Linked DNA regions of Homo sapiens: regions 1 and 3 are each linked to region 2. The links are contacts of gene promoters, found by promoter capture Hi-C in human tissues and cell types (Jung and others, 2019). All regions are on one chromosome and are shown on one strand. Each heading gives the region's core, a stretch centred on a gene start or on the middle of the fragment in contact. The rest is flanking DNA. Distances are from core to core; before and after follow the strand shown. Region 1 overlaps TCFL5 (transcription factor like 5). Region 2 holds the start of GID8 (GID complex subunit 8 homolog). Region 3 has its middle 17 kb from the start of LINC01749.

Evidence for each region. Contacts are between HindIII fragments. The study calls those that stand out against the background at their distance.
Region 1: a fragment that was not itself captured here is called in contact with the fragment with the promoter of GID8 in region 2 in 6 of the 25 tissues and cell types used here (dorsolateral prefrontal cortex, liver, lymphoblastoid cells and 3 more).
Region 3: a contact is called between a fragment that was not itself captured here and the fragment with the promoter of GID8 in region 2, in 3 of the 25 tissues and cell types used here (bladder, dorsolateral prefrontal cortex and lymphoblastoid cells).

The regions. Positions count from the first base shown.
Region 1 is chr20:62,855,451-62,858,150 of GRCh38, reverse strand. It overlaps TCFL5 (transcription factor like 5), which reads left to right. Exons shown (of 6, transcript NM_006602.4): 4 at 513-756. Among named protein-coding and RNA genes, the nearest start is that of TCFL5, 5.0 kb to the left of the region's middle. The HindIII fragment of the contact is 4,926 bases long and covers 1-2,700 here.
Region 2 is chr20:62,936,866-62,939,565 of GRCh38, reverse strand. GID8 (GID complex subunit 8 homolog) reads right to left here and starts at 1,419. Exons shown (of 5, transcript NM_017896.3): 1 at 1,313-1,419. It also overlaps a transcript of DIDO1 not described here. RefSeq lists silencers at 1,049-1,178, 1,249-1,478, 1,849-1,898, 2,169-2,218 and an enhancer at 685-1,353. The HindIII fragment of the contact is 10,021 bases long and covers 1-2,700 here.
Region 3 is chr20:63,061,874-63,064,573 of GRCh38, reverse strand. No RefSeq gene overlaps it. Among named protein-coding and RNA genes, the nearest start is that of LINC01749, 17 kb to the left of the region's middle. The HindIII fragment of the contact is 3,284 bases long and covers 1-2,700 here.

The DNA of each region.
Region 1 (2,700 bases), core at 139-2,638, 81 kb after region 2:
CACACACGCTGCTGCAGTTTTGTTCTGAGCATTGCAGTAAAAATACTGTCATATTAGAATAATTGTTTTTTTTTCTTGTTCTTAGAATAATTGTATATAAAGAAAATATTTTTGGGAGGAAATATGTCCAGGTGGTTTGTTGTTGTTGTTTTTTTTTTTCCATTCTGACCTTTAGAAAAAGTAAACAACTTCTTGTTTTCTGTATTCATAGATAACACCTGTTAATTAAAAAGAGGGGCTTTGGATGAGGTCATATTGGTTGCATAGCACTTGGAAAACGTATTTAGTGTGATGATTGATTCTTGTTCAGTTTCGTTGTATAAAATAGGCTTGGGCTTCATGGTCCCTGCTGATGCTGAAAAACTGCATTAGTACATCTCTTTGTGTTTCGGTTCTCTGTGCTGCTTACCCAATAATGTTTATATCTTGGATTGAAAAGGCCAAAACTGTATTCAGCATTAATTGAGATAAGAATACAAAATTAAAAACCACTTTTTTCTTCTTTCGCAAAGAAGCAGCGCTATGCAAACAAGCACTGAAGAGGAATCGGAGTAGAATGCGTCAGTTGGACACAAATGTAGAGCGAAGAGCCCTTGGAGAGATTCAGAATGTGGGCGAAGGTGCCACCGCCACACAAGGCGCTTGGCAGTCCTCGGAGTCCTCACAGGCAAACCTGGGGGAGCAGGCCCAGAGTGGGCCCCAGGGAGGAAGGTCTCAACGTAGGGAGAGGCATAACCGAATGGAAAGAGATAGAAGGTAATACGTGTGACTGCTTGTCAGGCTGACTCATATATGATTACCTTAGTCATACATGGTTATCACAGATGAGTGATCCTTAGCCGTTTCTGCGTTCAGAGGGAATAAAGCAGGTAGGAGCATCGTTAGCTTTCCCAGATGGATCAAGGATCCCCCAGACTATGCCCAGGCTCGCTGGCTCACTAGGAGGACTCCCGGGACTCCGCATGCAGTCACTCTCAGGCTGTGACTTACTATGGAGAAAGGATGCCAGGTGCGATCAGCAAAGGCGCGTGGGGAGAAGGCAGGAGCTGAGGTGCAAGCTTCTAAGAGCGCGCCCTGTGGAGTCAGGCAGGTTGCCCCTCATGCCCCCAGCCATGTGGTCTGAAAACGTGGGTGAGGTGTTGCCAACCAGGAAAGCTCGCTAGAGACCAGGGGCGTGTCACGTAGGCACTGCCCCCATGCATGCAACCACAGTCCAGTCTCCCAGAAGGAAAGCAGTTGTTCAGTGTCAGCCATATCGTTTGCACAGTGTAGGTTCTGGGGGCACTCTTAACTCCCTGAATCTAGGTTTGCAGACTCCACTAAGGGCCAGCCCTGACTGCAGGCCTTTCTGAGGAGAGTGGTCAGGCTGTTTTGGTAACTGCTGCTTACCAGCCAGCTTGAGTTCAGCAAGTTTTGCCTGGTTCTTTTTTTTTTTTTTTTTTTTTGAGACGGAGTCTTGCTCTGTCGCCCAGGCTGGAGTGCAGTGGCGCGATCTCTGCTCACTGGAAGCTCCGCCTCCCGGGTTCATGCCGTTCTCCTGCCTCAGCCTCCTGAGTAGCTGGGACTACAGGCGCCTGCCACCACACCTGGCTAATTTTTTTGTATTTTTTAGTAGAGACGGGGTTTCAGCATGTTAGCCAGGATGGTCTTGATCTCCTGACCTCGTGATCTGCCCGCCTCGGCCTCCCAAAGTGCTGGGATTACAGGTGTGAGCCACCGCTCCTGGCTATTGCCTGGTTCTTTTAAGATTGCTGGGAAGGAAGAGGTTAAAATTGTTATTTAAGTGGTTTTGTCTGTAGATTTTATTTGTGGTATCCTTCTTTGTAGAATTAAGAGTGGTTAATTTTTTTCTATTATAATTGGGTTTTCTTTTCTTTTTCTTTTTTTTTTTTTTTTTTGAGACGGAGTCTTGCTTTGTCACCCAGGCTGGAATAGTGCAGTGGCATGATCTCGGCTCACTGCAACCTCCGCCTCCCAGGTTCAAGCGAGTCTTCTGCCTCAGCCTCCCCAGTAGCTGGGATTACAGGTACCCGCCACTACGCCCAGCTAATTCTTGTACCTTTTAGTAGAGATGAGGTTTCACCATATTGGCCAGGTTGGTCTCGAACTCCTGACCTTGTGATCCGCCTGCCTCGGCCTCCTAAAGTGCTGGGATTACAGGCATGAGCCACCACACCCGGCCTATAATTGGGTTTTCATAGAATATTTCCCTAATCTATAATTAATTAACTACATAATGTATCGAGTACTGGTACTGTGTACCAGTTTCTGCTTTAAGTTCAGGAAATAAATAACAGTGAGTGAGACAAATACTCAGGTTTGAAGCTCCAAGGTTGAATGTTGAGCTAAGGCAATTTATTTATTTATTTATTTTTTTATTTGGTGAGATGGAGATTTACTCTTGTTGCCCAGGCTGGAGTGCAATGGCACGATCTCGGTTCAACGCAACCTTCGCCTCCCAGGTTCAAGCGATTCTCCTGCCTCAGCCTCCTGAGTAGCTGGGATTACAGGCATGCGTCACCACGCCCAGCTAATTTTGTATTTTTAGTACAGGAGGGGTTTCTCCATGTTGGTCAGGCTGGTCTCGAACTCCTCACCTCAGGTGATCCACGTGCCTCGGCCTCCCAAAGTACTGGGATTACAGGCTTGAGCCACTGCGCCTGGCATGGCAATTTCTTTTAAAGGGATCTATTCAAACTT
Region 2 (2,700 bases), core at 170-2,669:
CTGGAAGAAGAACAGGTTTGAGAAGCAGGGCAAGTTTGACGTGACTATTAGACATGCGTCTGGAGAAATCAAGCAGGTGTCTGAATTACAGATCCTGAGCTCAGAGCTGAAAACATGAATTAGTGAAATAAGGGGCGGGGGGGGCGGTGCTGGGGCACAGGGATATTTAAAGCCAAGAATTCAGCAAAGACCATAGGAAGAGCGTAGATAGGGAATGAGAATCGCCATTACTTGGAGGATGCCAACCTTGAAGGTAAAGCAGAGAAAGTGGCACCAGCAGAAGAAAACTTGATGTGGAGCGGCAGGTAAAGTGGAGGAGAAACCAGGAGTCGCTGTCACACACGAACACCCATCTTTCGTTGTCAACTGCAAAACTCACTGAGACCAACTTTTTATTCACGACAATTAATGGTAACTTAAGGACTCATTTTCTTTTTCTTTTTTTTTTGAGACAGAGCCTCGCTCTGTCGCCCAGGCTGGAGGGCAGTGGCGCGATCATGGCTCACCGCAGCCTCGACCTCCTGGGCTCAAGCGATCCTCCCACCTCAGCCTCCAGAGTAACTGGGACAACAGGAGCGCACCACTCTGCCTGGCTAATTTTTTTATTTTTAGCAGAGAAGGGAGTCTCGCTGTTGCCACGGCTGGTCTCGAACTCGCGGGCTCAAGTGATCCGCCCACTTCGACCTCCGCCACCGCGCCCGGCCCTAGGACCAACGTTAAGAGCTCCCTAGGAAAAGGCACCTTTTCTCTCGGCCCATTCGGTGATCGGCACTCACAGCGCTTCCACTCCGGGCAGTTACGTGCGCCCATGAAAAGCAACAACTTTGTAGAACTGGCCAGTCCTGTTAGCAGGAAGAACTCGGTAGTCTCAAACTCCAGCATAAAAAGATTCAGCAGAAGAAAACACCCGTGTGCTGAAGACTCCTACTTTCCATGCCACACTTTACATCCTCACCCGCTCGGTTTCTGCTTTAAAGCAGCAGATTTTATTAAAAAGACTTCGTTACGGACGTCGCTCCTCCACAGAGACAGCTACCGCCGCCCCTCAGGCTGGCCGGGACCGCCCCAGAACACCAGCGCCTGAGGCCGCGCGCCTGGAGGCTGAGCCCTGACTGCCCCCTGGGCACCGGCGCGGGGCGGCCGTCCGGGCCTGGACTCACTGCGCGCCCCAATTCCGCACCTGCCAGCGCCGGCGCTTCCAAGGCCCCCAGAGCGGGGGCGGCGCGCACCCCGGCCACATCCCGCCTGCCCGCCCGGCCCGGCCCCGGGAGACGCTCGGCCCGGCCGCCCGGGCCCGCCGCCGCCATCTTACCGTGCGGAACCTGCCTCCCGCGCTGCGCGGTCTGGGCGGCTGCGGCTCCGCAGCCTCTCCTGGGCTGGGGAGAGGTGGCGGCCGCCGGGGCGCCCGAGTAGAAGGAGGCAGAGGTGGGGGCCGCGGCGGAGGCGGGGGCGGGGGCGGGGGCGGGGAGCGGGAGGGCAGGCGCACCGGAGGCCGCCCCTCAGCACCTCTCGCGACAGCAAGAGAGCGCGAGAGCGCGAGCCGATGACCAATGAAGCGCCCCCGCGAGGGGGCGGGGCGGACGGCCTCCCGGAAGCGCGGAACCTCAGCTTCCGTACTTGCGCAGAACTCCCCTCGCGGCGACCACGCACTACGGGTTGGCGCCAGAGTCAAAAGGCGTCGGCCCTCTGGCAAGATGGCTGCTGCGGAGGCGTTGGAGCGCGGAAATCTGGAACCGGGATGGCGACGTCTACACTGAGTCGGAGGCGAAGGTCCCAGCTTTTTTCCTGTCGTTTGCGTGAGGCCGCACGGGGTGGGGCGGGGGAAAGGCGCCGGGTGTCCGCGGCCGCCCCTCAGACGGGGAGGGAGTCCCCTCCCGACCGGCGGCCTTCCAGGGCTAGTGTCCCTGAGGTCCAGGGAGAGACGGCTGACCCGAGACCGGGCTGGGCGAGAGCTGTGCTGTCTGCGCGTTGAAGCGAGTTCCCCCGCTTTACTCGAGATGTTGTTGAGCGCGTCCTCACTCGAGGCCAGGTGGGGAATCAGAAGGGCCCTGCCCTCAGGGCGCCTCCCATGGGCTACGCCGAAGGGCGGGACGCGGCCAGGGCGCGCGGGACAAAGGAGACCCCACTTGCTTGCGGGGCGGAGTCCCGGCGGCGGCGCGGGGCAGGGCCGGGGTTACTCGGTGACTGGAGACCCTCCCGGCAGGAGCGCGGGTTGAGGCCGCACTTGGGTATTTGCGCGTTTACTTGCTTATTGCCTGTCCGCTCAGGAGGAATGCGAAGTCTGTCATTGCAGGGTCCCATGTTTCCGTTGCTGGGAAGTACCTTAAAATATTTGATAGAGCCGAAGGAAGAAATAGAGTCCTTGAGGGGCAGCTCCTGATTTCATCTGTGAGGAATTCACGGGACGGCTTCTTTCTGAAGTCAGGGGTGAGGTGGTTTCGTGTGTTTGCTTACAAGCGAGCTGAACAACGTGTAAGCTATGTCGGTCGGTCTACTCAGCGACAGTAAGTCCAGTTCGGCAAATAGGTTGGAGGAGACTGATTTTGGACATTTTCCGTTAATCGAAAGAGCTAAATCTGCAGGTATAAGGTCTTGACAAAATTATGCTTCATATGCAGAGGCAGTACATGCCAGTAATTTTTTCATTTGCAACTACATAACCCTATGGGAAACAGTTATTGGTCTTTATTTAGTTATTTA
Region 3 (2,700 bases), core at 8-2,507, 130 kb before region 2:
CGGGCGGCCTCCAGCCCCACCCCACTTCGCCTGGCTCCGCCCTGCAGGCCACGCTCACCACTCCCTTGGCCTTGCCCTCGGATTGCCCTGCTCTCGGGGCCACACGGAAGCCGATACAATGCCCGTGGGGCATGAAGCCCGATGGCCTCCAGGGTAAAATGGCATCCCCGAGATTGGAGGCTCCATCCGAAGCACAGCGTGATCCCCAGTGCAGGCATCCTGGCCCTCAGACGCAAATGGAGCCCGTTCTCTTGCAGGACCTCGGCCCATGCAGGTCAGTGGGGGCCGTGCCGAGGTCCACACCAACACCCGGGGAACGTGGCCTTCGGCCCTCAGAGCCCACGGCCCCAGAGAAGACCCCAGGTTGTGCAGCTCCCTGGAAATAAAGTAGAACAGCCTCACAAAGCTTCATGACCCTGGATTGGACAACGGTTCCCTGGATATGACACCAGAGGCACAGGCAATAAAAGAAAAAACAGACACACTGGACTTCAGGAAAACTTTAAATTATTCACCTTAACAGACAATCTCAGCAGAATCAAAGGCAACCCAGAAAACAGGAGAAAATATTCGCAAATCATATATCTGATAAGGAATGAACATCCAAAATGTACAGAGAACTCCTAAAACTCAATAAGAGCAAAAATCCCAACTCAAAAATGCATGGAGGGCATGGCTAAGTGTTTCTCCAAAAAGACACACACACGGCCAATAGGCACGTGAAACAACATCGCTAACCATGAGGAAAACGCAAATCAGAACCACAGTGCGATGCGCCTCACACCCGCTGGGATGGCTACCGTAAGAAGAAGCTGAAAATAAGAAATGTTGGTGAGGATGTGGAGAAACTGGAACCCTCGTGCACGGCTGGTGGGGGATGTAAAATGGTGCCTCCACTGTGGAAAACAGGATGGCACTCCCTCAAAAAACTCAGAATGGGCCGGACACAGTGGCTCATGCCTGTAATCCCAGCACTTTGGGAGGCCAAGGCAGGCGGATCCCAAGGTCAAGAGTACGAGACCAGCCCAGCCAACATGGTGAAACCCCGTCTCTACTAAAAATACAAAAATTAGCCAGGTGTGGTGGCCGGCACCTGTAATCCCAGCTATTGGGGAGGCTGACAGAGAAGAATCACTTGAACCCAACAGACGGAGGTTGCAGTGAGCCGAGATCGCGCCACTGCACTCCAGCCTGGGTGACAGAGCAAGACTCTGTCTCAAAAAAAACAAAAACAAAAAAACAAAACAAAACAAAACAAAACTCAGAATGACCATGTGATCCGGCCATTCCACGGCTGAGTGCACCCGCAAAAGAACTGAAAGCAGGATCTCAAAGAGACACTTTATACCCATGTTTGCAGCAGCATTGTTCATAATAGCTAAAACATGGAAGCAACCGTATCCATTGAGAGATGAATGAATAGACAGAATGTGTCTATCCACACAATGGAATATTATTCAGCCTTTAAAAAGGAGGGAAATTGTGACGGAGGCTACAACGTGGATGAAGCTTGAGGACATGCTAATGAAATCAGCCAGTCGCAGAGGACAATACTGTAGGTGTCCACTCACACGCGGTCCCAGAGCTGCCACATTTGTAGAGACAGAAAGTAGAAAGGGGAGGCCGGGGGCTGGGGGAGGAGGCGTGGGGAGCTGTTTAATGGGGACAGAGCCTGGGTTTGGGAAGGTGAAAGGCGTTCTGGAGATGGACAGTGGTGATGGCACAACCATGGGAATGTCCTTAGTGTCATTGAACTGTTCATTAAAAATGGCTGAGATGATAAAATTTTATGTGTGTTTTACCACAATAAACAAAACTTGGAGAAAAAAGTAGAACAGCCTTGAGTCCAACCAGCTCGAGACCACACTCCCTCAATCCTGGGGGACACTCCTAATTACACCCCGGAGTGACAGGGAAGGGCCGGGGGCGTCAGGGGGACCCAACTGCAGGAACCCCACATTCAAGCCCACCAGCTCCAAGGCTCACACTAAAAATCCCAGGAATGAGGCAGCCTGGCAAACCTCTGAGCTACTTTCTTATCTTCTTTAAAACGCCCCAGAATGTACTGTTGGGCTTAGAATGGGGATTCTCTCGGGGTCCAGCTGTACATGTAAATACCAAGTGGCTGGGAAGGGGGACAGGGTGGGGCCAAGCACCCCCGGCTCTCTGAGCAGAGAGGACTTTGAGCCTCCTGGGACCGGGGGCAGTGGCGCTCGGGGGCTTCACGCTCTCCCCCATGGAGCACAAGGGGCTTTTGTTTTTGTTTATTTTTTCTGGTCAAGAAATGTGCCTGCTTTTCCCTCTTTTTTCCTTTTCGGGCTGCAGTAAAGGAAAGGCCGAAAGAGCTCCCCCACATCAGGGTGAAGAAGAACACGGACAGGACACGGACATAGACAGGACATGGACACAGACAGGACACGGACATGGACAGGACACGAACACAGACAGGACACGGACATGGACAGGACACGAACACAGGACACGGACATGGACAGGACACGAACACAGACAGGACACAGACATGGACAGGACACAGACATGGACAGGACAAGGACATGGACACAGACACGGACAGGACATGGACATGGACAGGACACGAACACAGACAGGACACAAACAGGACACGGACACAGACAGGACACAAACAGGACACGGACATGGACAGGACACGGACATGGACACAGACACGGACAGGACACG